Linked DNA regions of Homo sapiens: regions 1, 2, 3, 5, 6 and 7 are each linked to region 4. The links are contacts of gene promoters, found by promoter capture Hi-C in blood cells and fetal thymus (Javierre and others, 2016). All regions are on one chromosome and are shown on one strand. Each heading gives the region's core, a stretch centred on a gene start or on the middle of the fragment in contact. The rest is flanking DNA. Distances are from core to core; before and after follow the strand shown. Region 1 overlaps COL19A1 (collagen type XIX alpha 1 chain). Region 2 overlaps COL19A1 (collagen type XIX alpha 1 chain). Region 3 overlaps COL19A1 (collagen type XIX alpha 1 chain). Region 4 holds the start of LMBRD1 (LMBR1 domain containing 1). Region 5 overlaps COL19A1 (collagen type XIX alpha 1 chain). Region 6 overlaps COL19A1 (collagen type XIX alpha 1 chain). Region 7 overlaps COL19A1 (collagen type XIX alpha 1 chain).

Region 1 (4,017 bases), core at 153-2,652, 270 kb after region 4:
CACATGAAAAAATGCTCATCATCACTGGCCATCAGAGAAATGCAAATCAAAACCACAATGAGATATTATCTCACACCAGTTAGAATGGCAATCATTAAAAAGTCAGGTGCTGGAGAGGATGTGGAGAAATAGGAACACTTTTACACTGTTGGTGGGACTGTAAACTAGTTCAACCATTGTGGAAGACAATGCAGCGATTCCTCAGGGATCTAGAACTAGAAATACCATTTGACCCAGCCATACCATTACTGGGTATATACCCAAAGGAATATAATTCATGCTGCTATAAAGACACATGCACACGTATGTTTATTGCAGCACTGCTCACAATAGCAAAGACTTGGAACCAACCCAAATGTCCAACAGTGATAGACTGGATTAAGAAAATGTGGCACATATACACCATGGAATACTATGCAGCCATAAAAAAGGATGAGTTCATGTCCTTTGTAGGGATATGGATGAAGCTGGAAACCATCATTCTCAGCAAACTATCACAAGGACAAAAAAACAAACACCACATGTTCTCACTCATAGGTGGGAATTGAGCAATGAGAACACATGGACACAGGAAGGGGAACATCACACCTGGGTCCTGTTGTGGGGTGGGGGGAGTGGGGAGGGATAGCATTGGGAGATATACCTAATGTAAATAATGAGTTAATGGGTGCAGCACACCAACATGGCACATGTATACATATGTAACAAACCTGCACGTTGTGCACATGTACCCTAGAACTTAAAGTATAATAAAACTATATATATATAAAAGAAAATTTAGTTTATATGAAAAAAATTAAAAATGAATATATACATAATAAGTAACTATGGATCATGATAAGTACATCTGGCCTTTTAGTTTCAACGTAGCCATCACTTTTTAGAAAAAGGTCATATTATAAAAATGAATGTTAATTATTTTTAAATTAGATAACAAAAGAATTTCTTCTGGAATAAGGGGAATAAATTTACATTTATTTGCATTTGTATTATCAGATTTTTCATTTATTTCAAACCATTTAAGGCATTTAATAGATGATGGGTGAATTATAAATATTTGGAAAACTTTTTGAAAATTACTGCCTTTATCCAAAAACTTTTATTGGAGTGGATGAGTTCCCCATGTGAATTGTCATTTGGCCAGTAACAGGCACATACCGTGATGAATAAAATATAGATTCTGTTATAGATTAGAGCCTGGTGAGAGTAACAAATCATTACATGAATAATCACTTAAATGAATTAGTGGTAAGTACTTGAGAGAAAAAGTGCAAGGCACTAGGAGACTGAAACAAGGCATTGTCTCCAAGTGGTACATCAGGGAAGATCAAGCCTGGTTTTCTTAAGATCAGTTTGGCTGTGATGTGAATGGATGGAGGAATGTGTAGCTTCAACTAGGAAGCTCTTACAGATGAGCAAGAATATGGGAGCAGCAGGAGTGGAGAGAAATGGATGAATCCAAACGTATCTTGTAGATAAAGCCAACAAGATTTTGTAACTGTATGTGAGAGAGAAGTTTAAGAGAGTTGAATGTGGAGAATGAGTTCTAGATTTCTGGCATGAGCATGAAGAGAGTGTGGTATGGATTTATTGATTTGGGGCATGGTGGAAGAGGATCCAGTTCTGGAGGGAGGATCCTGAGTTCAGCATTTGATGGGGTAAACTGTGGATGCCTGTGAGGTAGCAGTGGTTCCATCAAGCACGTCGTGGGTCTGAATGCAGCTCAGAGATAAACTGGAGTTGTAGATCTGGGAATTGCTGGTCTAGAGAATCCAAAGCCCACAGATGTGTGAGATCAATGTGAGAGAATGTGGACTGAGAAGAAAATGAGACAAAAATCTCCCGCATTTAATGGTTGATTAGGGAAGAAAGAAGCAGCAGGAAAGAAGTAGTCATAACTGCTGAAGTTTTTTTTGAATGGCAATATCATCATTTTTAATTTCATGTGGAGTAAGAATTTCTGTCTAAAATAAGAATCAGGAGACTTGACTTTCAGATTAATACCTGGGATTTCCTAGGACTTTGTTATGATCTGAAAAAAAAAGAATGTTTATTTTCCCTACCACTTTATATTATTACAAGAAAGCAGTAAATAATATTTTTAATATTAAAAGTTCAATGTTATGAGTAGGCATGTTTGAAGCCAACACCATAATCATGCATTTCCTTAGAATATACTTTAAAAGCTACTCTCAACCAAAAATATAATTTTATTTATAGAGTTTAAATGTATAAAGAGGTATCTTTTTCTGCTTGCAAATATTGTTACCACTTATTTATGGTGGTTTGTTGAAACATGGTTCCAATCATATGAGATTCTTCACTGGCGGTGAACATTTGGTCTCACACCTGGTGTGGGTCTGCCTTTTTTTCTTTCTGGAGTTAGCTACAAAGAAGCCAGTCAAAGAAGGGCAATTCATCATTATTAATATATTATATAGTTCAACCTTGAAAGAGCTCAAATTACTTTAAAAGTTTGTTTTAATCAACAAAATAATTATTAATTTTCACAACATTCTTTGTGAGGCAGGTGTACTTGAAACAGTGTATTAACATGTGTCTCTTTTTCCTCATAGGGTTCCCTGGGGATACAAGGCCCCCAAGGTCCACCTGGAAAAGAGGGTCAGAGGGTAAGTAAAGCTGGAACAACTGGTGGGCATTACTAACTTAGGGGATACTTATTTGGGAACACTAATGAAAATGAAACCGAAATAGAGCAAGCAGATGGGCATATGGAGAGTATCAATTATCCAAAGGCTGAAATTTGAGATTCGAGATTTTGACAGAGGTTTTGCAATTCAGAAAATTCTATATTTTTCAAGATTGGCAGCACAAGTGTAGAGATATTGTTTGGATAAAATGAATTAGCCCTAATTTGATCTACACTACTTTGGTCATACTTTTAGTTTTTGAATTAAGTTGATGAGTATCTTTGTGGAGGTCTAGCCTATTTATTAATTCCATAAAGGTTGTGGATATTAACTACATTCTTTATCCAAATTAAATTATTGACTTCACTGGCTTTTCATAACTCTCCTTTCATTGCCATTTATTGCCTTTAACTGAGACAAAATAGTAAGCAAATAAATCATCGTTGGAATTGGTAGTAGAGCAATAACCTCCTATTTCTAGTGCAGTTCAATTTCATCATTCCACAGTAAAACGAAGCCCTGCAGTGTTATGACAACTGGTCAGCTTCATATGAGCAGTGGGGACCCCATTCTTGTGTTTTACTGTTATTATTATCATTTTCAAACCATTTTAAAGTCTCAAAAAATCTTGTGTGTTCTTTCTCATGTGCTTATTTATGGCAGTCTTTGTACTAAATAGTACAGGTACTGTCAACTTCTGTTCCCTTGTTGATGAGCATTCCATGACTTAGAGTTTAGATGATGTGCCTAAACTTGAGCTTCTGACTGTAGTCCTACGTTCTCTTTTATTATTAACCCCAAATATGTTTCTTAGACATTCTCATTTATTATTCCCAGTTCTGCCTTCTGTAAAATAAGTCTCTTTCCTCAACTACAAATATTTGAGGGTCAGTGGTGTATTGTACTAAGGTTTACCTTTTATCAAGTTAATAAAATTCCAATTCTCTTAACTTGTTCTCTTATCGTATGGATTCTGGACTCTCCAACATGCCAATAATCTTTGTCAGAAAACACTCATTGGCTTTCCAGAGTTGTCGAGAATGAGACTGGATACATGTGGTCTTACTTAGGGCAGAGTAAAATGAGGCAAGTACGCCCCATACCACAGACAACATGCTACTATTATGGCCTAAGATTGAGCCAATGCTCCTTTGTCTGGTATTGTACTTTTGACTTGTACTACATGTGGTCAATTAAATGCTCCTCCCTTTTTATTTTAATGAAAACTGCTAAGTCAGGTCTTCACCCAGCCCGTTGTTGTACAGTTACCTTTTTGAATCACAGAGTAGGAACTGATCCTTGTTGTTAAATTTCATCTTTATTGATTTTAATCCCTAATAGCATTCTATTCTTTGGGGGCTTTTTG
Region 2 (3,754 bases), core at 1,205-3,704, 320 kb after region 4:
TAAGCCACTATACTCAATGTAAATGTGCTTTACTAAGTTATGTATAATGTGTTATAGATGGAAACATAAATGAGAGAAAAACTCATTTGACATTACCTTTTCCAACCATTATTATTTTTTCATCTCACCATTCCTATGTCTGAATTTAGGCTTCCTAATGACTGTTTTTTTTTCTTGAATACAAAGGGAAAAATAATTACTGATCTCTACTTTTTTACAAGCCATTAGAACACTGGAAATGTTTCTTGAAAATTAGTCCAAAGGACTTTCCAACAAGCATTCTATCTGTTCTTACAGAAAAGCGATTTTTTAGCACTTTTGAAGAGAGTTGGTTAGTACAACTTCCTTCACAGAGGTTTTTGGTATTTCAAAGATTGTTCTTGAATTTAACTGAAAACCCACAGGGCCAAAAGCAGCTGTGTGTAACCTGAAAACATGTAATTTTGAATCCAGAAAAAAGCTTCCAATAGGAGATTGAAGAGCTATGGTGCATAAGTGGCATCTGGATGGCTCAAGGAGACTCAGTCAACAGAGATGAAGAGGTACAGGGTACTTTTAGAGAAAAGGGAGAAAGGAAAATAGTTCAAGATTGAGGATCAGAGAGTGAGCAGGCGATTTGACTAAGGAGCCACAGAGCTCCTGATTCACAATGTGCAGAGTGTGCTAAAGCTGGATCAGAAGGCTCAAGCTCTGACTTGCACAGACAGCTTATGGCAAAGAACAGTCAGGGAAAAAAAGGCAAAAATATTGCTCTTTAGGCTAAGTATACCGGGTGAATTGGCTAAAAAGTGAAAATGCAGCTAAGACTAGGACTAAGGACTATGGTTTTTAACAGAGAACTCTTCCCAACTTTTAAACTTTGGGAATGTGCAGCCAAAACTGAAATCTACTAAGGGAATGATAATGCAAATAGCTCATCATTTTTACACTACGTGTCTGACAAGTCCGGTGGCAGACATCATGGTATTTCTGTTTTCCACCTCCAGCAAGATTTAAGCCAAAAACTATTTAAAAGCTGCTAGAACTATTGCTGAGAGTATATACTTCCCAAATTGAATATAGCTTTAATTCACTTTATCACACCTGCTGTAGTTCTTTGCAGTAAGAAACGACATCAGGATCTCTATCCACACCAGGTTTATAGGCCTCTCAGATAATTATGAATCAGTACAGTTAGGTTCAGAACAGTTGTTTCTCCCTGGAGTTCATTAGCATATTTTAGCTGCTCTGTAATTGTATACTCACCACATTAATCCAGATGTCCTATATCTCCCAATCCCATACAAATAGAGTGAAGCAAATCTCCGTAAAAAACAGACATTGTATAGGCATGACTTGTGTACAATCATGTTGTGGGTCACTGTTATAAGCAAGATATTGGGACATTTTTCCTTTCCATAAACCTTTAACCACTTTTCCTAGCAGAGCTCCTAAGAGCATAAGCCAAGGCTGACATGCCCTCTGCAGTTGGCCTCTCTTCACCACTGGACCTGGGTCATCTAAGTGTCTTTTGATGGGTCCTTGTAAATGCAAACCTCAGAGAAAGGGTTCTGTCAACTGCCCTAGAGCATCTACACCACCATGTGATGCCGAGAGATCTGTCACTTACCACAAGTCTTTAACTTCTTTCTTGGAGTTGATTGGTAGTCTGCAGGATAGACAACTCTTGCTAAACTTGGCGACAACTCCTTGGATCTTCTCCAGCCATATTTCATACCAGAATAGAAGATAGAAAAATAGCACATCTCTTGGGATGTGGCTGGTAGGATAGCCACCAATTCTGAAACCCCAAGGTTGTGTTCCAACTGTAAACAGAGTTGCTTTTGCAATTTAAATGCTTATAGCTTATTAATGACCACTATCTTTGACAGTGTTAGAGCAACCAAGTGAGACACTGCCTCACTGACTATAGTCAGAGTAGAGGGGGACTTCCAGAAGACTCTAATTGGCATCTCTTTCTAGTCTCTGAAGGGTTCCTTCGGACCGCTAGGAGAGTTTGTATAAAGTATTGCCTGCAGGGTAGACGGTTGGCTGTAAATTTCTGTCACATTAAACTTGCAATTTGTGGTACCCAAACTATCCCAGTGACTAAAAAAGTGAGAAAGAAAATGTCATCATAAATACTCATGATGAGATTAAGTGGTAGAACCTAAAACTTCAGATCAAACCCATTTCGAGTACTACTTTGAAGATAAGACATTTTGTGACAAAAGCAGAACATATGAAAATGTAGAAGTAATTTTTATGGGTTTATTAATCTTGTGGATATTTGAATAATAACGTTCAACCTTTTCTGTAGCCTCATTGCTCTTGGCATTGTTTTTAGTGAGTTGTGCCCTTGCCTTTGTTTTTAGAGGGAGCAGCTGCACTGAGCCGTGCATATTCTCCCACCCCACCCCCAGTGGTAAGCTCAGCAGCAGCCAGATCAGGATCCTGCATGAGAAGTATATACTTTGCTTATGAAATACAGCTATCTTCTGTGTGCATATGACCAGTCTGTAAAGGATCATATCCCATTTCACCCAATTTTTTACAAATCATTATCATTCTATTGTTTTTTACTGTTCTCACTTACACTGCTACCTGTTTTATTCTGTGCAAACCCTACAACACATTTGCTTTCTTGCTTCTTTTCCTTACTGCCTCCCAGAACCCTTTGGGAGGCTTCACACTTCTTGTATCTCAGACCACCTGCTCTCCCAACCTCTACAAACAAAGATAGGATACATTTGAATACAGTCACAGACTAGGAGAAATGTTTTGTAATATTCAGGGATAATCTCCCTAACATGGGTTAAGAGACTGTATGAACATAGATGGGAGATACAAGGAGTAGATAAAGAGGCCTCTCTCAACTACACGGTATGACTACAGCTAAAGGTAATGTGTTCACTTTCCCGCCTCCTGCACCAAGCACTGTGAAGTACCTGGCAGAAGTGCTACGTAGAAGTTTTGTTGATTTTTTTTCAATTTCAGTAAAGTAAATAGAACATAGAAGAGTGATCACCCAGTATTCTCTAGGGTACACACATCATCATGATAAGAAAATTACTGCAAAAGTGATTTTTGGCTGAGTTTGCCTTTAAGTTAAGATAGTAGAGTAGACGAGAACTGGCTTTGGGCCCAATGCTAATGTTAAATATTAGCCCTGCCACTTACCAGTGGTGTGACCTTGGACCAGTTAAACATTTCCAACCCTCATTTTCTTTATCTTTGAATCAGAGAGAATGATGGGACATTCCTCCTGTCATTGTAAGGACTAAATTAGTTAATTCCTGCTGTAATGCCTAGCACATAATAAGCACTATATAAATGTTTGCTATTGGCCGGGCCCGCTGGCTCACGCCTGTAATACCAGCACTTTGGGAAGCCAAGGCAGGTGGATCACTTGAGGTCAGGAGTTCAAGACCAGCCTGGCCAACATGGCGAAACCCTACCTCTACTAAAAATACAAAAATTAGCCAGGCATGGTGGCACATGCCTGTAGTCCCAGCTACTCAGGAGACTAAGGCACAAGAATCCCTTGAACCTGGGAGGCAGAGGTTGCAGTGAGCTGAGATCGTGCCACTGCACTCCAGCCTGGGTGACAGAGTGAGACTCTGTCTCAAAAAACAACAACAAAAAGAGTTTGCTATTATTATTTGACTGATTCTGCTACTCTATTTGGGAGACTGTATTATTAATTTTTATGCTATATTTAAGAGTTCTAATAATTAAGACCCTCTCTTTTAACTAGATTGAATATGTATGAAGT
Region 3 (3,917 bases), core at 757-3,256, 300 kb after region 4:
AAATTGCAGCCCCTAAGAAAGGTGCCATGGCTCACACCTGTAATCCCAACACTTTGGGAGGAGGCCAGAGCCGGAGAATCACTTCAGTCCAGGAGTTCGAGACCAGCCTGGGCAACATAGTGAGACCCTGTCTCTAAAAAAAAAAAAAAAAAAAAAAAAAAATTGAGAAAAAAAGAGATTGTGCCCTGCCTGGACCCATAGCTCTGTTATGCTCTAAAGCTTCCACCCACATTTCTCATCCATCCACCCCTCTCCTCTATCCTCCACAAGTCACTGATACTTGAGACTTAAGTCTCAAGAGTTTTTCCTAAGGTGAATCTTGTTTCTAGTACAGATTGAGCATCCCTAATCTGAAAATTCGAAATCTGAAATGCTCCAAAATCCAAAACTTTTTGAGCAACAACATGGCACCACAAGTGGAAAATTCTACACCTGACCTCACATGACAGGTTGCAGCCAAAACACAGTCACAATTTTGTTTTATGCACAAAATTATTTAAAATAGTGCATAAAATTACTTTCAGACTATGTGGATAAGGTATATATGAAACATAAATGAATTTTATGTTTAGACTTGGGGCCCATCCCCAAGATATATCATTATGTATATGCAAATATTCCAAAACAAAAAAAAAATTACAAAACACTTCTGGTTCCAAGCACTTTGGGACAGATGATAATCAACCTGTATGTATTTGGTGGTAAGCCTAACAAAAAGGTAACTGCACTGCTTTGTATAGCACATCTTTAAAAATTGTTCAAATCTGATTTAAGGTGCTAATAGAAATTCAAGCCTAGAAACTACATTTAATGTGAAAATATGTGCTGGCCAAAGTTGTGTGCACACAATATGTTCCAATTACTTAGCAACCCCCAAAAATATTTTACCTGCATGTCCACTCGGCAAAATCAGCCTTCTCTCTGCCCTCTTCCAGCATGCACACTGACACTCTGACACTCTGACAATGGCAAGGCTGGCTGAAATCAGCAGTGAAGTGCAGGAATCTGGATGCTTGCCCTCACCATATCCTGAATCTTGGATGCTTTTTACTCCTCATCTTAACACATGCCAATGTTATGTTACAATATCTGACATTTGGTTTGTTTCAACATTAACTCTGCGATAAAAGTTAATCAACAGTCAGCTTCATTTTCCCCGCTTCCTGCCCAAATCAATATACATGACTCCTTTGAAGAAAGGGGAATGTAAACTAAAGTTGATCCTATGGTTTTAACTTACCTCAACCTAATGTATGCTTAAGGAAAGAACCAATCACTTACCTAGATACCATTGATTTAGTTTCTTTGTGTTGTTGTGAATTAATAAATTACAGTGTTTCCACTTTCTAAGTAAACTTTTTATCATTGATTAGTCCTCAGAGGCGAATTTACTTATATTTACTAAAAGACCAAATATACTGATTTTCAGAAAATGTAAACTGCAAGACTAGAACATGGTGTACATGTGTATAACTTGTTTTAAGTATAGAGAATATTAAATTATATGTTCATTTCAATCTTACAATCCTCCAAAAGAACTGCATGGTTTAGATCTATAAAATGAAAGATAAGAGAAAACACTACTATTAATAATTATATTTGTGTTTTTAATTTTTTTTTTTTTTTTTTTTGAGACAGAGTCTCTGTCTCCCAGGCTGGAGTGCAATTCTCCCGTGTTCAAGCAATTCTGCCTCCAGAGTGGCTGGGATTACAGGCACATACCACCATGCCTGGCTAATTTTTTTTGTATTTTTAGTAGAAATGAGGTTTCTCCATGTTGGCCTGACCTCAGGTGATCCGCCTGCCTCGGCCTCCCAAAGTGCTGGGATTACAGTTGTGAGCCACCATGCCTAGCCTATGTTTTTAATTTTTAAAAAATTTTAAATCTGTTCTGTAGATGTTAACTAGGGCTATTTATAGAAAAGGCTGCTGTTTTCATATAAAGTCTTTGATGGTATCACCTAATTTCCCTTCAGGAACAATGGACACATTTCTCATCCAATCCCAGCATTGTATTTGCTTGTTTATCTCTGAAAACTTACTCTACTGTTTCAACTGGCATTTAGACCTCCTACCCCACTTCAAGACTAGATGAAAATCAGAGGAATCAGGCAACTTTGCCTGACATTTTCAGAGCAAGAAAATTGGTGAATAAAATGGGCCTTTCTGTGCCTACACTTATAATTCTCCCCCAAAAAAGCATTGAAAAGATCAACCTAATATCTTTACTTTATAAGTATCAATAAGGCTTAATATGTACAGACAGTTTACCAATGTGATAATCAAATAGAATTGTTAGTAACAATGAAATAGAGTGACCATATTTAGAAAACATATGCTCATAAATGCTTCTCATTCAAAATGTATGCTTTCAATACCTAAGCTCACTTCCCTCTTTTAAAAATTTAAAAAATAAAAAATGTTTAAGAAAATAATTTTATAATAAATAATGAAATGCTTTTTAAATGTTATTAGATTCACGGGTACTTAGAGAGGTTAGCACAACATCTTGCGATTGGAATTTAGCTAGTTGTGAACTTGGGAGAGTTAATATTTGGTTGTAATCATGAAGATTAACATGCAAGAATTATACATTTTACTTCACTTATAAAAACAGCTTAACCATCTAAAGGGAAGAAAAGAGCTAATGTGCTTCATTCAGTATATGTAATTACAATAGGGCTTAGGGCAGTGCTTTCCAAATTTTAGTGAGCATAAAAATTATCTGAAGTAGTTTTAAAAATGCAGATTCGTGGCTCCGACCCCCGGGATTCTAAACCGTGAATTCTAGGATGAAGTCCAGGAATATGCATGTTTAACACCCAAACTCACCCTCAAATAACTCATACAAAATTAGAATTCAGACCCCTCTTGGACAACACCAACATAAGATGACAGATGTACTTGTTATTGCATCCGAAACCACAGAATCATCAGATAAAATACCCATCTTAGACCATCTTTCATATACTTTATATTACTTTGCTAAAGAACCAAGGTAGATAGCATTTAAAGGGCTGCTGATAAAAGTTAAGGTTTATTCATTTCAGGTACTATACTTCTCATTATGGTCCTTAAAAATTGGCCCACAGCTTTTAAAATTGATATTTAAAAGTCATGTGGAATTGGAATTGTTTCTTAACTTTCTGTTCATTTTTACTGTCTTCAATATTCCCATTTAATATTGTTTGATATTAAAATATAATGGAGTCACAGTATTTATCATCTATTCTTCTTTGGTTTCAAGGGAAGACGAGGGAAAACAGGACCTCCCGGAAAACCAGGACCCCCAGGACCACCTGTGAGTAAACAATACAATGACTGTCCCTTTAAAGAGTCTGTCTTTATGTCTGTGTGTTTACCTAAGGATTATTTTACTCCCCTGTAGATAATGATTTCCTTTATTCTACTGTTTAGAATGACTGGTTTCAGCATTTGGATGAGTAGTTCATACTCTCTATATTCCTAACTCCATCATCACCACAAACCAAGAGATGAGGGAGGCTGGTAATTGTCCATACACCTCACCCACTTCTTTATTACACAAATGGCAATAACAGTAGTGTCTGCTTGAACATCCCAAGCCAAGTGTCCAGATAGATGAATCCTGTTCTGAACCTACCTGAACACCATCTTCTAGATTTCTTAACATCCAGGCTGTTAGAAAATCAGACATCTGGGGAAGCATATCCACTTTTCTTGATATGAAACTATTTTGTTAGTATAATTTCATGATTTGGTAAAAAGTGCTATAAAGATCATCTAACCAGTTAGCTTATCTGGATCCTTTACCCCAAGCTTCTAGAAAAAAAAAATATTCAATTTCTTGTAGTTCTGGTAACTCTGCAGCCTATGAGAGTCTGGTTTGTGTCCAAGCTGCTCCACTGACACTGCACTCTCTGTGGTCACCAACAATC
Region 4 (3,593 bases), core at 1,071-3,570:
CAACTCTTCAATACTTAGAATTTTCAGAGACATTTCTGACAAGATCAGTTGTAATTTAATGAAATGTGATATTTTGATATTGTGTAATGAAACGTATCCATATTTAAAAGATGTGCATAACTCAGTAAACCAACATTTTCTAAGTGGCCATGGCATCATGTTATAAAACCATGCATGGGTAAAAGAGCCTTTCAAAGTGCAAGATGGGCTAATGGATTTTAATGTAACAATGAATGAAATGCTCATTGATAGGGTTTCAGATTCCACCTTGCAGCTGACATGAATCTTCCACTTGTTGAGCTTTGGTGTAGTGTCAAAAAACATCCACAATTATCTGAAAAACGCTCCTCTGTTTCTGACTACCTATCATTGCAGCTGTATTTTCTCCATACACTTCGACTAAAATAACATACCCCAAAAGACTGAATGTAGAAGGCAACAAAAGAAACCAGCCTTTCTTCTAATAAACCAGGATTTAAAGAGATTTGCAGAAATTTAAACAAAAGTCCTTCTTCCTAATGCTTTTATCCACGACAACATTCAATTCTGATTTTATTTGTCCTTGCTGTAATATTGCCAACTTAAATGGCCTCTCTTCTTCATCTATCCAAACTCTACCACAATTCTCATTTTCTTCCAATATTGTTGTCTATTCTCTTAAGTCCTGCTTTATTTATAGTCACACTTTGGCTTTCGGTCCATAAAATACATGTTTCAAGAATTTCAGTTTTCTCACTTATCTTCAGGCCCTCTTTAAAGCCGTATTTTGTTTGGTTTACATCCTCTTACAATTCACACCACTTCTGTACCGTAAATGTTTATTAATTTATAACTGCCAAGATAGTCTCACGTAACTTTCATACATTACATGCTTATTTATTTTTTTCTAAACAAACTAAATCTGATGGACTGGAAAAGCCAGGGGGCTCTCCAAATACAGGACTGGGTGGCTGCAGAGACCACAGTCAACCTTTAGGGTTTCATTTCCTCCAAGAGAGGACTAACATGTTCCAGGGTAAAGGCAGTGTTTTTATCTGTGACAGTGATGGCAGTAACAAGAGGATCCTTTTCTTAAATTTTCACACCATTCTTTTCTTTTATTTTCTTTTTTTAGTCTCTACTGCAAAAATCTACTAGAACATACTACATAGGTACCAGACACCAACTGGATCTGACAATTAAAGTAAAACCAAACAAGCCTGATTTCCAGAACTGGAGGTTTTTGTTTTGCAATGCAAAAAGGTCAAAATACGTGAGAACAGAAAGTAACTACAGCCTCGGACGATGAGAAAAGAGAAGATTTGAGAAGGTAGAGAAGTTATGAAAGGAAATAAATTGAACTCCCAAATAAACCAAAGGGTTTTAATATGAACAGGGAAGTAATAGCCAGGCCACTCTGAGACATTTCTATCTACACTTTGCTCACTGAATATGCAGAAATAAGATCGTTGGAAAAGAAAGCACCTGAGGTCAGACAGGTAGTAGTATATACTCCGATACTGGTAATAAAGAGGGCTACAGCTCCGCCCTCCACAGGTATCTACACCAATCAAAAAAAGATTAGAAGAGAATGTGACACCTGGAAGTCAGAACGAGCAACTCACGTCATCAAGGCAGAATCACACAATGGGCACAGAGGTTGGAGACTCACTAGCCCCAAGGGTAGGGAAAATGAGGGAAAAAACATACAGAGAAGGTGACAAGTAAACAACGCCAGCGCCTACTTAACTTGCAAAGATCCAGCGCTGCCGCCCCACACCGTGTGACAATGTTTTACAGGGGACGAAAGGCCACCACATACTTCTCAACCCCGAGGGTCTCTTCCGCCCCCAAACCCCACCGGCCCCATTGCCCAAGTCAGCGATGACGGCAAGAGCTTCCAAAAAGGACCCTGCAACCCTAGACGTCATCGGTGAAATGACAGCAAAAGAGACCGGAAATCGACACCCCCCTGCCCCCGCCGCCCGCCCAAGCCCCCAACACTAAGGAGCCCTCCACAGTCCAAGCTAAAAGCGGGGCGGGGCGAAGAGGGTCTCCGGGGCCCGGAGAGGCCAACTGCAGGGCCTGCCCCTCCCTTCCTCCCCCAGTCCAAACATGGGGAAAACTCCAAGCGCCTCCCCTACCAGTAGTAAGAGGCCGAATATGCACCAGCCGATCACCAGCTCCGCCGAGGCCGCGCCAGAAGTCGCCATCTTCGCTTCCGGTCCAGACCAACCTGAGCGCCCGGGGTGGGGAAAGGGGAGGGGGAAAGGGGAGAGAGCGCGAGATATACTGCACCCGCGCACCCTAAAGGTTAAAGGGGCGGAGGGGGAGGAGCAAGTGGTTGCCAAGGAGACTGGACCCACTAGCGTCCCCTGGCGGCGAGCCGAGCGGGGGCGGGGCAGCAAGGACTGCTCAGGGGCGGGGCGCGTGCGGACGCAGTGACATCACCACGCTGCCCTCGCTGGCTTCCCTGCAAGCTGAGATGTGGGAGGGCTGCAGAGCAGGGTGTTGGCTCATAGCTGGGCAACCTATTGAGATATTTGACTCAGCCTAAGTTGATAGACTAGAACAGCAAGGGAACTCCACAAAGAATGGGCTAGGTGGACCTGGAGATCCAAGTCAATTTTAGAGGTTTATACTTCTTCACCAAAAGGAAGTTTGGCCCTCGTGTACAAGGTGGAATGTGTGTGATTAGCAGAACTCCTTACCAGGTTGCAAGAATGGCTGATGTCAGGCCTCTGAGCCCAAGCTAAGCCATCATATCCCCAGTGACCTTCACGTATACATCCAGCTGGCCTGAAGCAACTGAAGATCCACAGAAGTGAAAATAGCTTAGCTGATGACATTCCACCATTGTGATTTGTTTCTGCCCCACCCTAACTGATCAATGTTCTTTATAATCTCCCCCACCCTTAAGAAGTTTCTTTGTAATTCTCCCCACCCTTGAGAATGTACTTTGTGAGATCTACCCCCTACCCCCAAAACATTGCTCTTCACTCCACCTCCTATCCGAAAAACTGTAAGAACCAATGATAATCCCACCACCCTTTGCCGACTCTCTTTTCGGACTCAGCCCGCCTGCACCCATGTGAAATAAACAGCCATGTTGCTCACACAAAGCCTGTTTGGTGGTCTCTTCACACGGACGCATGAGACAGCTGACTCTGAATAAAAGTTGACTAGCTGCCCAAATCACTCTAATTTACTGGCACTGGTGCCCAGCCGGGATAACTGGTTGGCTGGACATGAACTTATCACATGATGTTATAGCCTTTCTATTCAGATGTATGCATGCCTGTGAATTTCCATGATAGCTTTGTATGTAAAGGTATATGCATCAGCAAACAAAACACACTGCCATAGGCCCACAATGAAGAAGAAGGAGGAAACTCTTGGGATGGCTTACCTGAGTCCACAGGGAGGAAACTCTTGGGATGGCTTACCTGAGTCCACAGGGGTGTGAGTGCATGTTTCACCACTGTGATGTAGTCAAGAAACAACTCTGAGAAAAAATACCATCATCTTTTTCCAATGTATTATGTGGTGATGAGTTATGCTCTACCTATAATCTACTTCCGGCTGGAAGCCTGAGGGAAAAAATAGGATGGTCC
Region 5 (3,800 bases), core at 831-3,330, 380 kb after region 4:
AATGAAAATTTTGTAATTCAAAAGGAACAGAGGGAAATTGATGTGTATTGCCTGTTTATGTCCTTTACCCATTTTTCTATCAGTTATTTTTTTCTTTTTGATGATGGCTATGCTCCATACGTTAAAGACATTACTTCTATCTCATGTGTTGGAGTTTTCATCCTAGTTGATCTTTGCCTTTCATTTTTACGTTTAATCTTATTGTAAATATAACCTTAATGTAGTCAAATCTAACACTATATTTCTTTATGATTTCTTGTTTTGGTTTTATGCACAAAATGACTTCTACTTTTATTTTCAACCAAAATCAGAATGTCACTAATATATTCTTTGAGCTCTTTTATAATGTATATTATTTTATTTTTATATAAATCTATGTGGAATTCATATGGGATATAATGTAAAGAGAAGAAGCAAACTTTTTTCAATGAAATTATCCAATTATTAGAACTGTTTGTTAAATAAAATCCTATTATAAATGCCGGTCTGTTTCTGATATTTCTGTTATAGTATTTTGATATGCTGCTTAATCTTATGCCAATATTCCATTATAGCTTTATTTATTATATGTTTAAATGTTGGTATTACTAGTATCTCTTTATTATTATTCTTTTAATTTTTTTATCCTCTCAGTTATTATCCCAAGTAAACTTTAGTATCATTTGATCACACTGCAATTTTGTAAGAATTGCATTAAATTTATAAATTAGTTTAGTTAGCAATGACACCTTTACAACATTGTCTTGCTCTCCAAGAACAGAGCATATCTCGTCATTCATTAAATCAAGCCTTTTATGTCCCTGAGTAAAGTTTTTTAAATTCAGTTTCTGCCCCCAAAAATTGCCATTTTATTATCCCATATATATAGTCGTTAGTATTTTTAGCATTGTCAGCTTTATCTAAAATATCACATTGGCTCTTAAAAAGGAGTTGAGTCACTCTGTTGTTCAGAGCAATTCAAGGGATCTTCTAATTGGCCAAATGAGAACTACAAATCATTAGTTGTAGATCATTTTATTCTAACTCTATATCCAATGAGACAAGGATAGGAAAAGCTTTTTGGAAGACACTCAAAGTGCTTAATCTTTTAAGCAAGAGTAATGATCTTTTGAACATGTAGAATAAAAATATTGACTAATTTAACTATAAGTATGTAAGGGGACATTAAAATAGGTCACAGAAATGATTATGCTTGCTTTCATTAAAACTATTATTTACTTTAGTTTTATGGAAAATAAAAAAGCTGTAACGAGTTCAGTTGTCAATTAGCTACTCAGTTTGCTATTTTTCCATCTACACACTAGCTTCACCCCATCTAATATCAATAACACTTATCAGATCCAAAGGAAAGCTTTACCAAATCCAAATTATTATTTGAGAATTAATTTCATAACTAAAGACTTCATTGATGTCATTAAAGTAGCAATGTTTTTAAATCCCAACAGGGAGATCGAGGCCCAGCAGGTCCCCCAGGAATAGCAGGGATGTCGGTGAGTTCAGATTACTTCACATCATTTTCACAGGTAAACGGTTCTATCTCCATGATACACCTGTGGCCAGGGATCAAGACAGGCAGGAGAGCATACCATAACTCCCATGGCATTAGGTTCCTGACAATTCTAGTTTCATAAATAATGCCACCTGTATTTTCCACCTCCACAATCCTCTATTTCTTTTGTTTTGTTTTGTTTTTTGTCCTCTTTTATTTTCTTCCCAAGTCACTTTCATGGAGGGGAGAGGAAACACAGTTACTATACATTAATTTATGAGCACAGCTTTGGAAAGTTTATTGTGTTTCTCTATTCTTGTCATATTTCAAGGTTTCTCAGTCTTCAAAAGACAGAGTTCTTATCCTCAGGCATGTACTTCAAGTTCCTTGTATTAATGCAATCTGCCTGAGTTATTCCTTAGCCCAGTGTTATTAGCAGAGCTTTATTGCTGCTAATGTTTCCTCATAAACTAGCCCTTCAATCCTCTCAATCATTTTTGTTGCTCTCTGGTGTCAAATGTTTTAATCTCATCAAGGCCTTTTCAAATGAATAGGAAGTGTTCCAGGAAAGGTTGAAATTATTTCTCTGAGCCCTAGAGATCATTCTGATCTTCATTCATGATGCTCTAATTAAAATTTTGTGGTCACGCTTTATGAATAAGAGGCCATTTATCCTCTTGCTAGGTGCTCCTGCAGGGCAGGTCCAGGATAACATTACAGGAAAGTCAATGGAAACCATGGGCTTGTATCACAAGAATATAAGAAAGATAAGATAAGATAAAGGCCCTACAATCACCACCCACAGTCACCCACCGAGATCTACTGACACCCAACACCACCCAAAGCCCTGCTCATCTCCCACTGCCATCCCACAAAGTGCTCAGAGCCACTCTACTTCACTCCATTAACTTCTAACAACACAAAATAGAGCCCCATCCATCATCTGCATCCTTCGTAGATGATGACATTCCCTTACTTAGCCATTATAGATCAAGTCAAATATTCGTATGACTGTAAAAGTAGCATGAAAATATCTTCTTTGGAAAGCTCTTCCAAATTTTTTATAAAAGGAAGTATTCTTGAAAGTTGACTACACACTTAATTCTATTCCCTCACTACTGCCCCACTCACAGCCATTCCCAGCAACATATTTGGAAATCAGTTTCTGGAAGTGTCCTTAGAGAACCTTTACAACCTGTTCCTCTTATACTCACATCCTGTGATTTGAATTTTTGTTTCCTTGTGATAAAATAAAGTCTAGTTTTTTTCATTGTGTTCACCCAGGTGTGTCTACAAATTACATTTTGCTATTACCCTAAATTAAGCTTATCTTCTAGGAAAAAATACTGGCCACCATTGCAAGTATTTAAAAGATGTGCAACAGTGGCCACAGGCAATCCAAATGAGAAATTCCAAATATGTTTTTCAAAGAGGAAGCATTATTGAGATAAGGGGCTAGCCTGCCACTTAGTTGGATGTCTAAGATCTGATATATTTACTAAAAAAGCAGTTTTCATATGTCATAATTAAAAACATTAACTGGCTAGGCATAGTGGACTCACACATGTAATCCCAGCACTCTGGGAGGCCAAGATGGGCAGAACACTTGAGCCCAGGAGTTAGAGACCAACCTGGGAAACATGGCAAAACTCTTGTCTCTGCAAAAAGTGCAAAAATTAGCTGGGCACCTTTAGTCCCAACTGCTTGGAGGCTGAGGTGGGAGGATCACTTGAGCATGGGAGGCAAAGGTTGCAGTGAGCTGAGATCGTGTCACTGCACTCCAAACTGGGCAACAGAGCAAGACCCTGTCTCAAAAAATAAAATAAAATAAAAGCACTGACTGACAATTACATAAATAAGAAAGGGTAAAAAATTTACATACTACAAACATGTTCAGTTAAAGATGCATGTTAGATTTTTATAACTGGCCCTTCTGCGGCTCAGAAGATAAAATAGTTAAAAGAATCTAGAAATAGACAATGGTGATGGCTAGATGACAGTGTGAATGCACTTAGTGCCACTTAAGTGTGCACTTAAAAATGGTTTAGAGGGTAAACTTTAGGTTATGTATATTTTACCATGATAAAAATTTTTTTTCGAAAAATGGTGATTGTTCTAGTTGAAGCAGGGCTGGGGCCTGCCCACACAGAGACACTGGTAACTCAGCTGATTACCAAGGGGACCCAATCCTGCTCTTCCTAGAACGGACCGGTCTATCCCTTTCCTGTATATTCAGGGCTAACCAGGGATTTCCCCTAGAGCTTCTTTCTTTGCCTTACTCTGAGGAAAGCGTGTGGGTTTACAGGAAGAA
Region 6 (3,624 bases), core at 242-2,741, 360 kb after region 4:
TCCTTGATCCCACTGATGCAAAGAAACTTGATCCAGCTCACAGTCCTATAGAATGCTGATAATCAATATGCAGTAATGTTTCCATGGCCACATCATCTAATATTTATAAAGTATATGAAAATGCATATATCATAATAGTAAAAGGTAAAGGAATTGTATGATGACAAAGAATGGTATGGCAATCCAGAAAGAATATTTTACTCAGTAAAGGAGACTAAATCCTGAAAGAATGGAATCATTCAGTCTAGAACTTGATGTATCACATGGTTATCTGAAATAACAAAAGCATATTTTAAAATAGTTTTTTCTCATAATAGAAGTGATCTCAGTCCACTATTGAAAATTGGGAAAATACAAAAATGCACTAAAAGATAAAATTTCTCCCTATTCCCACTACCCAGGAGGGACTTCTGGCAATAGTAATGTCATGGTCCACAACTCTATTAGTCCATTTTCACACTGCTATAAAGAACTTTCCTGAGACTGGGTAATTTATAAAAGAAAGAGGTTTAATTGACCCACAGCTCCACGTGGCTGGGGAGGCCTCAGGAAACTTACAATCATGACAGAAGGTGAAGAGGAGGCAAGCACCTTTACGAGGCAGCAGGAGAGAGAGCAAAGGAGGAACTTCCAAACACTTACAAAACCATCAGATCTCCTGAGAACTTACTCACTATCATGAGAACAGCATGGGGAAAACCACCCCCATGATCCAATCACCTCCCTCCCTCTACATGTGGGGATTACAGTTTGAGATGAGATTTGGGTAGAGACTCAGAGCCAAATCATATCAACAACACCTCATCTATAAATTCCAAAACCAAAGCCTCTGAAAACCCTGGAAATGTTTCCCAAGTTTGGCTTTGTTTCCCAAGCAAATTCATTTGGCAGCCCAATCTGGCCTAACTCACACGGAGCTTGTCTATTCCACTCTGTCAGAATATCATGTTTTGCCACAGAAATATTTGTGTGTTTATTAGAGGGCACTGCCTCAGGCACCACTGCAGTGTGATATAATATTCAGTATGTATATCATGTTACCTGTGAAATGAAGTGATAATCCAGAATTCTAAAACACATCTAACACTAAAGTTTCTGATAAAACTTATCTATTTGTCGTGATAAAATAATAAAAGCCTGTATGTATCATTCCCATCTTTTAGGAAGTACATTTAAAATTGTTTAAAAATTTAGACCCTGTGCTATATAAGATTTGTGACTTTATTTTTACATGTTTTCTAACTTTTTTAAAACATGATTTTAATAATTGCAAAATATTTCATGTTATAAATTGTATGTAATTTATCTAACAATATTCTGTTGTTGGCAAATGTATCAAAGTAACAAAACTAATTACATAAGTTAGCTAATCTTACCATTTCTTCCTTGATATATAAATGTATCAGCATCTTAAATCCTATCCGGTATAATTAGTGCTATTCTACAAATCTAAGGAGGGGAGGGAGGGGAAATCTATTCATTATTATGCTTAAGCCATTAAAGCGTTCCAAATTTAAATTCACCAGTGAGCCAAATTTCTTCTTATAATAAACTGACAAGCTAAAATAAATATTATATCATAAAACATATTCCATTTTTCCCTAGCTGAATGGAGCTTAAGTGTAATCATCTATTTCTTCAATGGCATTCTGCCAATCTAAAATTTGTATTTCCATGTTTTACCAGTACGAGATTCTTAGATACTACTGCTGACGGAGTGGCCCTATAAAATAAGAAATGCTCTATGAATCACCAGATTAAATTATGTTTGCTTCAGATTCCATGTCATGGCATTTTAGCTCACCCTTCTTACTCTTTAAAACTGAGTATTCACACATATTCTTACTTATAAGTGAGGGCTAAGCTATGAGTACGCAAAAGCATACAGAGTGATATAATGGACGTTGGAGGCCCAGAAGTGAGGAGTATAGGCGAGGTGTGAAGGATGAAAAACTACCTATTGGGTACAGTGTACACTACTTGGGTGATGGGTGCACTAAAATCGCAGACTTCACCATTATACAATTTATCCACATAACCGAAAATCACTTGCACCCCTAAAGAAAAATTTTTATTTTTGAAATTAAAAAATTAGAATTAAAAAAGTATATTTGTATATGACAAACATTATGTTTCTCGATTAGCTAAATAAGTGTTTAATGTTCAATGGTCAAAATATTTGATTAACTAAAATGCCTTCTTCCCAATGATATAACAGATTTTATGATGGGAACTATCTTTTCCAGGGTCTTCAAGGAATTCCAGGCATTCCAGGTGCTCCAGGCCCGACTGGACCCCCTGTAAGTATTTGTTAAAACGATTGCACTCACAGCTTATATCTGCTGGTTTGATGCAAGGTGAATTAATTTTCTTCATTGCCTTTTGTTCTCTGTGCCTCTATGTAGATTGTCCAGATATTGCCTGGAAAAGTAGCCTCATCCAAGCTCTCAGATTTTCATTTAGTATTACTTAAGGCTACTCAGTGTCCTGGGGACTTGCCTCAGAATTCCACCAGACCAGAAAGCAGTCTGCGATTAAGCTAGTGTGTTTGAAATAGAAATTGCATATAAAAGAGCATTCTATTTTTTATTTATAATTTTTTGGCACTAACCTTTAGAAGAGATAGTCAAATGGCACCACAAACTGAGAATTTATTTTCTAAAGGAAAAAAAAGTGTGCTAAGGATTATCAGATTTCATTTATTTTTGTTCCTATGTATAAAATAAAATACCTCTATTTTAGTCAAGGCTTTCACTGCCCCTCAAACACACCATCAAAGCCTTCGTGTCTTTCACTGTCTTGTTTTCCTAGAACAGAATCTCTTTTGCTTTATACTTGCCAAACCCAATCTCTCATTCAAACAGTTTAATTCTAGAGTCATCAGATAAAATATAGTGCATGCAGTTAAATTTGAATTTCAGATAAACAAATAATTGTTTAATATAAGTTCATCCCAAATATTGTGTTTTTATTTGCTAAATCTGGCAACCCAGCACATGCTTCAACTTCTCCACCTCATCCTTTCTTAGAGTTCCTATGCCAATAGAGTCTTTACCACACCAGTAGGAATGTAATTATATATTTTAATGTTCTGAAATAAGGATTTTCCATAATTAAAGTTGTGTCATTTATGCTTCCGCCACAGTTATACAGAACAAACCTGGCTTTAAATTGTTCACTAAAATTAAAAACGATGAAAAAGAGTTGTGAAAGAAACCATGAAAATTATAGCTAACTCTGTTCCCAAAGGATTAAAATTAAATTTTATTTTTCAGTGGTAAAATGCAGATCATAGAACTCAATATGCACACTGTTAATTCTGCCGCCTTGAAGTATTTAAAATGTTGATCCCTACCAAAACTATAGCTCATTTAGAAAGGCATAATGTTATGTAAATTGCCATTTAAACAGCAAGACTAGATTCTTAAGTGTATCAAAAGGTTCCAATTAAGGTCATTAAATGTGGTTGACGAAGGTGAAAAAGCGACCACAAATACAAATTTTACCCTTCCAAGGGCTTATCAGCAGGATACAGCTGCTGTATCAGCCAGAAGAAACATAAGCTTCTAGGGCTTATTTAATTAGGATCAAATGACCTTCAAAATGTGTAAGTTTTAGTAACCA
Region 7 (3,810 bases), core at 1,038-3,537, 350 kb after region 4:
TTTAAGCCTTGTTAACTGTTGTCATGCAAGGAGACTTCAACATTGGTTTGAGTTTTCTAATACATTGTTTAACCAGTTACTAATAGTGATTGGACATGAATGTTATACAAGACATCCATGTAGGATATCAAAAATATAAAATTAAAATAAAAGATACATTTTTTTCCAAAAATTCTGTTAATGGCACAAAGTGGATTTATCAAATATATTAATAAGTCACAGAAAATTTAAAAAGCAAACTTATTATAGCCAGTATCATCCTCTTTTGTATAACCTTAATTTTGTTGTGATTTTTTTCATTAAGCACATATAACTAACCATTAAGCACATATAACTAAAAGTAGAATCACCAACACATATTACCTTAAATTCTACTCTCCCTCATTCTTTCTCTGAAGTTTTAATTCTCTGGGACATGAGATTAGTTGGTGTCAAATTATAACTATGTCAGCTAAGTAGAGAATGCAGTGATTGCTAATGGGACATGATAATTAGTGTCAAAAATGGCATTGGGGGAAAAATTATTATAATGAAGAAATCAAGAAAGTATTATTTATTAGTAGTAAGTATTTTGAATCATGTTTTAGAATGAACTCTCCTTGATTTTATTGTGTCTTCCATAATTTCCCTTTTTATTGTATGTTAATTAGTAGAAATTCAATTAAAGTATCAGAGATGTCCATTTCCATCTGAATTTAAGCATTACCCTTATAGTAATTATTTTATTTACAGGGAGAACCTGGGGTAATAGGATCACAGGGAGTAAAGGTAATTTCCTGGCATTCTTCAATTTCCTCTCCAACCTTAATGAGATTATGAAAATTAAAGAAACATTGATCTTTCCTTCCCCCCACGTGTTTAGGGTGAACCTGGAGATCCCGGACCCCCTGGTTTAATAGGAAGCCCAGGACTAAAGGTATATAAGAAATAACTAAGATTTCTTGGGAAATAATTTGGGAATTGTAGCCATTCTGTGTAAAACATGGTGCTTTGGTATGCCACTCATTTTCTTCACAAATGCTCTCCAAGACTTTATCCTGTTTCCATGGTGATTTTCCCCACTGGCTGCATTTATTACACGCATAGTAACTGTCTTTTGGTTTTCACAATAGGATTTCTATACTCTTTTTCAGAGCATATTCACAATAGCATCCCTAAAAGCCTTAAGAGTAAACAATGTGAGCTAAATCTACGACCTTGAGCTATATTCTAAAAGGAACAGAATTCAAGTTTCAGTTTCTAAACCAAAATTATGCAACGTTGAGTTGCTTGAGTTTCCCAAGTGGGATTCCACAGGAGTGTCCCAAGAGAGCAGCTTTTGGAAAATGCAGGAGAAATTAATGTGGTGTACTCCCAGACAATGGGTAGGGCAAGTTACCAGGTATCACCTGCTGGTGAGAACACATAAATTAAAAGTATCTGGAAACTATCTTGGTAATCACAAAGCACATTTCAGTATTATACAGATAAAGTGGGAAAGTGGGATGGTGGAAAGTTGGTCTTCCTATACATGAAGATCACACTATTCTTTACAAATACTCAGGTACAATCTATCTTTTTTTTTCTTTTTTAGCAAAGCTAAAGTATATACCACCTTTTATTTTAGGGTCAGCAAGGATCTGCAGGCTCCATGGGACCCAGAGGACCGCCAGGAGATGTTGTATGTATAATGTCTTTGATATTTCTGGAATTGAAATTGAGACTAGGACATGTTTTTAAAAACATCAACATGTGTTCAAGTAACTGAGTTATCCCTCATTTCCCAAAGACATGGGTCATCTATGCCACAAAAACTGATCATACCTAATGTCAGGAGCTATTGGGAAGACTAGACCCTTCATATAATCATGTGAGGTCCTTTTGAGTATCATTAGCCTAATAAATTGGTTTTTGGAGCTCAAGTTAATCAAATTGTCATTTTGGACATGCTTGTCAGTGCTGTACCAGCAGTAGAGGAGATTGGAAATGTCAAAAGAAATAAAGAACACCAAAAGAGAAAGCAAACATTTTCAATATTCACAGTTTTTAGTTCAAGTCTCCATCTAAGGAAGACATTTCGAAAGCTTCTATCATTTTCTAGCAAAAGCCTTCCAAAAAAAGCAAGTCTTTTGGCTAAAAGTATGTCTGGAGGAAGATCGACAGATTGCATTATAACCTAGCTTTAGTGGACTTAAAATACTCAATACACCTTTCTATTCATTATCCGGATCAGCTTTTTGTTCCTTGGACAACTTTCTAGCCTTCTGACAACTTGGGAGCTGCGAGCTCTCCATCAGTTCACACTTGAGCAAAATAAGAAAAATCCTTGGCCATAACTCCTTGGAGACTGATCACTATCTGACTATGATTAGAGTTCCCTCCAGGCAACTCTTAGGATCTCTCCTTTTTTCATGCCCTGGGAACAGCCCCTTAACCTCACATTCTATTCTCCATGCTCACCGCTTGAGCCTCTCCTGTCTACTAGTCGGTGCACATATTCTGCTTGGTACTTTGAACACCCAGTTTATAGAGCAAAGCTTTTGATCACTCCCCTATGCCAAGTAATGGGCCACTGTAGATAAACCTAGTGGACAGATCTTATGAAAAGAGAGATAATCCTGGTGGCACAAGTGGAGCCACAATGCTCAAAAACTGAGACTAAGTGATAGTGGCCAGAGCTATAAAAAGAACAAAATCTAAAGGGAAAGAGCCACTGTTTCTAAAACATAGTAAAAATATATTTTTCTAGTTGCCCTAGAGTTCTTTGGAATCATTATGTGATGCTGCCAACCACCATCCTTCCTCGATGGCAATAATATGGGTGAGACGTTCGGTTCAATTCGACTTTAGTTTCTTTCCTATGGCATCCAGGTGGCTTCACTTGAAACAACAAACCACGTAGAATCACTAATATTTTTCCAGGTCTTAAAGGCCAAAATCAATCCAACTCCTTCTATTAATAGGTTATATGTTAAAATTCTGTTCTCTTGACAGAGATTCACAGATATAGGGAAATGTTATTGTAAGAGATGTTCTCATTACTCTTTCCTATTAACTCTGAGTTTTCTAGGGATTGCCAGGAGAACATGGTATCCCAGGAAAACAAGGCATTAAAGGAGAAAAGGTATAGTTTACATTTTCCTCATTTTATATGTTAAGTAGATAGGAGGAAGAGACAGAGGATCATAAGGGAGATGAAAGGACAGCCCAGGGCTTCTGGGATTGTACAGATTGTGCACATTAACTACAATGTAAATGGCACCCCCTAGAGTTGTGCATTTGGCAGCCCTGGTTCTGGCACAGGAATGCCATGTGACAAAATGAACTGACAGATGAAGATATCAGGAGTCTGAAAGTCAAGCTCAGTTACCAATCCTGGTATAAACCTAAGAAGTCTCTTAATCTTGCAGGATCTGTTTCTTGATATCTACATGGAAACAGTGCATTAACGTTGAACCATTATTGGAGAATAACTTAAAGAAAACATAAAGATCGTCTATAGAAATTTATTAATAGATATGCCCTTTTGTGCATACACATGCATATGTTTCATGATACTGCTAACATAACTAACTGCAAAATCTAAATGCACTGAACAGGCATGAATTAGGTACTCAATAAATATTATTGAGTGAGTTGGTGAGTGAGTGAGTGAGTGAGTGAATGAATGAAGTTTGACTGGCTATGATGACAACTTAAAACAATGGAAACCACTACCTCCTCACTTCCCACCATGAACCTGAGCATCAAAGTAAGAATCTTACCTTGTTTTCTACAGGGAGATCCGGGTGGGATCATAGGCCCTCCCGGGCTTCCAGGTCCAAAAGGTGA

Evidence for each region. Contacts are between HindIII fragments. The CHiCAGO score rates a contact against its expected background, and 5 or more counts as called.
Region 1: a fragment that was not itself captured here is called in contact with the fragment with the promoter of LMBRD1 in region 4 in 1 of 17 cell types (total B cells); the score reaches 6.2 in total B cells.
Region 2: a contact is called between a fragment that was not itself captured here and the fragment with the promoter of LMBRD1 in region 4, in 1 of 17 cell types (total B cells). The highest score is 5.1, in total B cells.
Region 3: a contact is called between a fragment that was not itself captured here and the fragment with the promoter of LMBRD1 in region 4, in 1 of 17 cell types (naive B cells). The highest score is 5.4, in naive B cells.
Region 5: a contact is called between a fragment that was not itself captured here and the fragment with the promoter of LMBRD1 in region 4, in 2 of 17 cell types (total B cells and naive B cells). The highest score is 7.3, in total B cells.
Region 6: a fragment that was not itself captured here is called in contact with the fragment with the promoter of LMBRD1 in region 4 in 1 of 17 cell types (naive B cells); the score reaches 6.2 in naive B cells.
Region 7: a contact is called between a fragment that was not itself captured here and the fragment with the promoter of LMBRD1 in region 4, in 1 of 17 cell types (total B cells). The highest score is 7.1, in total B cells.

The regions. Positions count from the first base shown.
Region 1 is chr6:70,065,847-70,069,863 of GRCh38, forward strand. It overlaps COL19A1 (collagen type XIX alpha 1 chain), which reads left to right. Exons shown (of 51, transcript NM_001858.6): 15 at 2,577-2,630. Among named protein-coding and RNA genes, the nearest start is that of COL19A1, 200 kb to the left of the region's middle. The HindIII fragment of the contact is 5,965 bases long and covers 1-4,017 here.
Region 2 is chr6:70,116,485-70,120,238 of GRCh38, forward strand. All of the region lies in intron 16 of COL19A1 (collagen type XIX alpha 1 chain), which reads left to right. Among named protein-coding and RNA genes, the nearest start is that of COL9A1, 180 kb to the right of the region's middle. The HindIII fragment of the contact is 3,993 bases long and covers 459-3,754 here.
Region 3 is chr6:70,098,922-70,102,838 of GRCh38, forward strand. It overlaps COL19A1 (collagen type XIX alpha 1 chain), which reads left to right. Exons shown (of 51, transcript NM_001858.6): 16 at 3,248-3,301. Among named protein-coding and RNA genes, the nearest start is that of COL9A1, 200 kb to the right of the region's middle. The HindIII fragment of the contact is 3,579 bases long and covers 218-3,796 here.
Region 4 is chr6:69,794,690-69,798,282 of GRCh38, forward strand. LMBRD1 (LMBR1 domain containing 1) reads right to left here and starts at 2,321. Exons shown (of 16, transcript NM_018368.4): 1 at 2,124-2,321. The coding sequence starts at 2,192. RefSeq lists enhancers at 1,272-1,828, 1,653-1,702, 1,829-2,384, 2,013-2,242. The HindIII fragment of the contact is 19,066 bases long and covers 1-3,593 here.
Region 5 is chr6:70,175,075-70,178,874 of GRCh38, forward strand. COL19A1 (collagen type XIX alpha 1 chain) reads left to right here. Exons shown (of 51, transcript NM_001858.6): 42 at 1,446-1,490. Among named protein-coding and RNA genes, the nearest start is that of COL9A1, 130 kb to the right of the region's middle. The HindIII fragment of the contact is 1,463 bases long and covers 1,350-2,812 here.
Region 6 is chr6:70,159,654-70,163,277 of GRCh38, forward strand. It overlaps COL19A1 (collagen type XIX alpha 1 chain), which reads left to right. Exons shown (of 51, transcript NM_001858.6): 35 at 2,247-2,300. Among named protein-coding and RNA genes, the nearest start is that of COL9A1, 140 kb to the right of the region's middle. The HindIII fragment of the contact is 4,140 bases long and covers 1-3,561 here.
Region 7 is chr6:70,141,161-70,144,970 of GRCh38, forward strand. It overlaps COL19A1 (collagen type XIX alpha 1 chain), which reads left to right. Exons shown (of 51, transcript NM_001858.6): 21 at 733-768; 22 at 863-916; 23 at 1,607-1,660; 24 at 3,050-3,103; 25 at 3,758-3,810. Among named protein-coding and RNA genes, the nearest start is that of COL9A1, 160 kb to the right of the region's middle. The HindIII fragment of the contact is 453 bases long and covers 2,062-2,514 here.